Linked DNA regions of Homo sapiens: region 2 is linked to region 1. The links are contacts of gene promoters, found by promoter capture Hi-C in human tissues and cell types (Jung and others, 2019). All regions are on one chromosome and are shown on one strand. Each heading gives the region's core, a stretch centred on a gene start or on the middle of the fragment in contact. The rest is flanking DNA. Distances are from core to core; before and after follow the strand shown.

Region 1 (2,700 bases), core at 19-2,518:
GGGAAAGGGTGGAGTGAAGGTAGAGTAATTCCCGGCTACCAATAGGCTAGAAACTGTAGCCCTGTAAGACGGGGCGGGGGGGGGAAGAGACTGCTGTATGAGGAATCACCGTTATCTTCAGAGGGAAAGGAGGTGAGACCAGGCAAGGTGCAGAGGAGAGATTTTCCCCGGTGGGGTAGGGCGGGATGGGGGAGGATCGGTCTGCTTGGGGTGGGGGTAGAGGGTGGAGGTGAAGGAAGGGGGAGTGGCTGGCAGTATAGGGACCTGGCCCGGGGATGGCGCGAGGGTTCATCGGGTTTTCGAAAGCAAGGTGCTGGAAGGGACACGATCCCCAAGGGCCAGGAGAACGTGGCCCTGGATGAGGCCATCACCCGAGAGACGCCCGAGAGGAAAACTGCCCTAGGAGTAACACATCTGCCCAGAGAGGGAGGCGGGGATGTGGCGGGATCAGGTCTCTAGGAGGGAGGGAGGGAGGAATCTTGCTCGGATGAGGTAATCTGTGAAAGGGAGGAGGGGTTCAGTCCCGGGATGGGAAACCCCGGCGAGGGGGTCTGTGCCAAGGGATTTGGGGAAGGGTCAGGGGGAGGAGAGCGGGGGGCAAACGCCCTCAGCCAGATGGGCCCAAACCCCGGGGTGGGGGCGCCTGGGGGTCTGCAGCCCTGCATGGGGGTCCCAAGATGGGAGAGCCATTCGCCCCGGGTCAGGGACCCCGAGATGGTCCCAGAATTGGGATGCTCCTCAATCCCGGATGGGGGAGGGGAGGGGGCTCCGCAGAGGGTCGAGACCCCGGACCTGGGGGTTCCTCGCCCCCTTACCTCTCCGCTGCCGCCTCCCCCGCCGCTCTCCCCAAACACGGCCCGGAACCGGCGCAGGTTGGTGCCGATGGCGGCCGAGACCTGCAGCGCCGCGTCGAAGCCCGGGCCCACCCGGAGCAGGGCCGGCCCTGAAGAGGCTGAGGACGATGACGAAGACGAAGACGAGGCGGACGACGAGGAGGCTGCTGAGGCGGCGGCCGCTCCCCCTGGAACCCCAGCCCCGCTGCTTCCCGCCGCCGCCGCCGCGGCCGCCACAGCCGGGGGGGAGGGGGGCGCCCCGGGGCCGCCACCGCCGACCGGGGGCCCGGGGGGAAGCAGCAGGGCCGGGACGCGTTGCCGCGGGGCGCCCCCTAGGCCCCGGCGCCCCCCGCCGCCGCCGCCCCCGGTGGTCCCGGGTCGGGCGGGGAAGCGCCACCGACAGCTGTGCGCCATGTTCGCCCCGTGAAGTGAAGCAGCGAGAGGGAGAGGCGACAACACAGGGGGGCGGGGAGGCGGAGGGGGGGGCACGGGGCCCCGGAACCTGCCTAACCAGCTCTGCGCCGCCCGGCCGCCTGCACCCTGCCGGCCGCTATGCAGAGCGCCGGGCCGCGCCCGCCAGCCCCGCAATCTGTATAGCGGCCTCGGGCCTCCGCCTCTGACGCCTGGGCGCTGCAACTCCATCCCGAGGCCCGGGCCGCCGCCTCCTGCCCGCCCGCCGGCCCCGCAACCTGGATAACTGCATGCCCCGCCCTCCGGGAGAGGCATTGCTCGGGAAAAGGAGGGGGGAAGGAAGCCCGGGAGCCCGGAGCAGAGCGCGGGTTCCGGAGAGAGGGGGAGGGGGCGAGGACTACGCGGAGGATGGAGGCGTAGGGAGCCGGGCCGCCTGCAGCCTTGAGCGCCGAGAGGCCGATTACACACGTTCCCGGGACGCGCTGGGAATCGAACAGCCCGGGAGAGCAGCTTCCAGTATAACGCGGCGGCTGGGTCGGGGAGCAGTGAGCCTTCTCCTCCGCCCCAGGGCACGGATACAAGATGGGTTAGCCCGAATTGAACGCTTCTAGAATAAAAGAGCCCTTATTGTACTACATGCAAAACAGAAGCGCTGCCCAGTTTACTATATGCAAAACAGAAAGGCCCTCAATGAACGCACTTTAAAAAATAAAAAAGGAGCCCCTCCCATTTTCATGCTGGAGCTCTTTCCAAAAAGCACACACCGAGTGGCAGGTCTCCTGCCACCTCCTCGCTCTACTGTGCACTCGTCTGGCTTTCGTGCCCTTCTGCAGGGAGTTGGGTTGTGTTTCTCCAGCCCGGGCACTGAGGCCACGGCGTGCTCCGCTAACGACGCGGTGTTACAACGAAGCTGAAGCTGGGTGGCTAACGGGGCCTGGAGGGAAGAGGCGGGCAAAAGCGCCCCCGCCCCTTCTTCCTCCGGTCTCTGCCTGCCGCTGCATGCAAAGCAGACCCTAATGTATGCACGCAGAGGGAGGGGGGCTCGCGAGCACGTTTCTGATTAAGAGAGGGGGAGGAGGAGAGCGTTGGGCATTATGATACACTGGGTGGAAGGGGCCCGCCGGCGGCGAGCTCTGTGCGCGGGGTTAGTAAGCTGAGGGGGGAGGGGGAAAGAAGGAGGCGAGTTAGGGAGGGGAATGAATATCCACCGGGTTTACTTTATTGCGGGAAAGAGGGGAGGGCGCCTCGAGCATAGCGTTAGACGCCTGCAAGGCTGGGAAAGCCGAGAGGGTAGGGAGGGGTTTGTGTCGGGAGAACTTGCGTTGGCTGAGGCTGGGGGATCGATACACAGCCTGCAGGCCCCGGGGCAGCCTCCATCCCCCAAGCCGAGGGGGAGTTCGCTGGAAGGTCATGCAGCCTTCCTGGACTCCCGCACCGGTACAGCGCACTGCATGTA
Region 2 (2,700 bases), core at 167-2,666, 1.1 Mb after region 1:
GGCCCTAGAGCTTGAATACCTGGAGGTGGATTCTAGCAACACCACTTAGAATAGAACTGTATATCCACAGGAAGTTAATCTTTCTGTGCCTTGATTTCCTCATCTGTAAAATGGGGATAATAATAGTACCTAACTCATGGAGTTGCAGTGAGGGTTGAAAAGGTAATACATGGGCCAGGCATGGTGTCTCCCGCCTGTAATCCCAGCACTCTGGGAAGTGGAGGTGGGAAGATCACTTGAGGTCAGTTTGAGACCAGCCTGGCCAACACTGCAAAACCCCTTCTCTACTAAAAATACAAAAATTAGTTCCCCAGGTGTGGTGGTGGGCACCTGTAGTTCTAGCTACTCAGGAGGCTGAGGCATGAGATTCGCTTGAACCCGGGAGAGAGAGGTTGCAGTGAGCCAAGATCATACCACTGCATTCCAGCCTGGGTGACAGAGTGAGACTCTGTCTCAAAAAAAAAAAAAAAAAAAAAAAACAAAAAACAAAGGAAAAGGTAATAAGGTAATACATGCAAAGTGCTTAAAACAGACGCTGGCACATAATAAGTTATGTTGTTATTGTTACTAATAATGTTATTGTTGTTTAAAAAAACACTGCTCTAAGTTCGTGCTTAGGAAATTGGGTTTCCCCTGGTCTCAGAACACACTGTATTTAGATACCCCCTACTATGTTTCCATTTAAATCTAATCACTGCTCTAACCCAAAGACAGCAAACTTTTTCTGTAAACAACCGGAGAGTAACTATCTTACCCTTTGTGGGTCATATACCTCTCTTAACAGCCACATATCTCTGCAGCTGTAGCATAGAAGCAGCCACACACAATACATAAACCATTGTGGCTGTTTTCCAATGAAGGTGTATTTACAAAAATAGGCAAGTAGCCAGGCAAGGTGGCTCACGCCTGTAATCCCAGCACTTTGGGAGCCGGAGGCAGGCAAACCGCTTGAGGTCGGGAGTTCGAGACCAGCTTGTCCAACATGGTGAAACCCGTCTCTACTAAAAGTACAAAAAATTAGCCAGGTGTGGTGGTGCACGCCTGTAATCCCAGCTTCTCGGGAGGCTGAGGTGGGAGAATCACTTGAACCTGGGAGGCAGAGGTTGCAGTGAGCTGAGATCACGCCACTGCACTCCAGCCTGGGCAACAGAAAGAAACTTAAAAAAAAACAGGCAAGAGGCCAAGGTAGGCTCACATTTGATCTAACCCGAATATACTAAGCAACTCTGTACATGTACCATACTTTGCACTGAAAGAATAAAAATAAACCAGACAATCCCTGTCCTCAAAAAACAAACACAATACACCACAGGCCTCTTCACAGACTTGTTACCTTGCTCACTAGGAATGTAGGTCTCATCATAATCTTCTTCCAGAACCAGCTGATCTCCTATGCGGAGGGGTCGTCCAGCCATGACTCATCTGGGCTCAAACACCTAGATCCCAGAGGCCCCCACCAAAAGAGAAAAATCAGTGACCAAGCTTAACAGGGGAAAAGTTGGCACTGGGTCATGGAGCATCTGGGTCAAACCAGACCCTGCAGAGCAATTTGGCCAGGGCCTTCCCAGGCGCCAGGTATAGTGGAGGGTGAAACCAACAACTCAAGGCTCACAGGCTCTGCACCTGGCAAAGGTCTCCCAAAGGCTTGATGAACACCTGGTGAACCACAAAACATCTTCAAGCCTGGCTCTGTCAAGAGTTTGACTTTGTGCCTCCCCCAGATAGAAGAAACAATTATAATACAGAACCACCAAGTAAAAATCCTAGTGACACCAAAATAACCAGCAGCACAGACCCCCATACACCAGCACATCTCCGTGGCACACCCCCATCTCAACACATATGCCCATCTGGATGTCCCGATTCATATCCAAAATGCCCTCAGGAAGCTTACAATCCAGTGGCGGGAACGACCTCAAGAGCAGCAGAAGGCAGAAGGGAAAAAAACTTCCTGTTCTGAGAGTGCTAAGATAAGGGCAAAAAATTTCCCCAAAAAAAGGAAGGAAGGAAGGAAGGCTGGCAAGAATTCTGATGGGGGAGAAAGGCATTCTAAACAGAGGGAGCATCTTGCACAGACAGGTGTTCCAGAGTGGGGATACCAACATGTGTGACCGGCTGGTCACAGTGAGCCTTGCAGACCGTGCTAAAGAGCCTCCACCCTGTCCTACACCAGAGGGGAGTCACTGAGGGCTCTGGTGAAACAAAGTATCACAGGGTGGCCTTTTTTTAGGACAAGAATTCTGGCAAGACTGGCATGGCTGGATTGGAGAAATGAGAGACTGGTGTCAGGAAAACCACCTGAGGAGGCTGCTGCCCAGGGGCGAGATGATAAGGACTTTAACTAGGGCAGAAGCAGGGGAATGAAGAAGAGACAGTCAGAACAGACCCAGTGATGTTAAGCTTAATAGGACCAGGATATGGGGGAAAAGTGGAAAGGAGCTACATCCCTTCAAAATTCACATATGTATATATTTTACTTTTTTTTTTTTTTACAGAGATGGTGTCTCACTATGTTGCCCTGGCTGGTCTTGAACTCCTGGGTGCAAGCAATGCTCCCGCCTCAGCCTCTCAAAGTAAGAAAAATACACATATTGAAGCCCTAATCCACAATGTGACTGGTTCTTTAGGAGGTAATTAAAGTTAAATGAGGTCATTAAGGTTAAATGGCCTGATAGGATTAAAAGGAGAGGAAGAAAGGAC

Evidence for each region. Contacts are between HindIII fragments. The study calls those that stand out against the background at their distance.
Region 2: a contact is called between a fragment that was not itself captured here and the fragment with the promoter of KMT2A in region 1, in 1 of the 25 tissues and cell types used here (dorsolateral prefrontal cortex).

Annotation. Positions count from the first base shown.
Region 1 is chr11:118,435,060-118,437,759 of GRCh38, reverse strand. KMT2A (lysine methyltransferase 2A) reads right to left here and starts at 1,268. Exons shown (of 36, transcript NM_001197104.2): 1 at 816-1,268. The coding sequence starts at 1,247. RefSeq lists enhancers at 1-299, 300-1,298, 1,960-2,099, 1,299-2,296 and a silencer at 1,170-1,649. The HindIII fragment of the contact is 10,858 bases long and covers 1-2,700 here.
Region 2 is chr11:117,337,302-117,340,001 of GRCh38, reverse strand. It overlaps CEP164 (centrosomal protein 164), which reads right to left. Exons shown (of 33, transcript NM_014956.5): 3 at 1,334-1,436. The coding sequence starts at 1,415. Among named protein-coding and RNA genes, the nearest start is that of CEP164, 11 kb to the right of the region's middle. The HindIII fragment of the contact is 3,425 bases long and covers 1-2,700 here.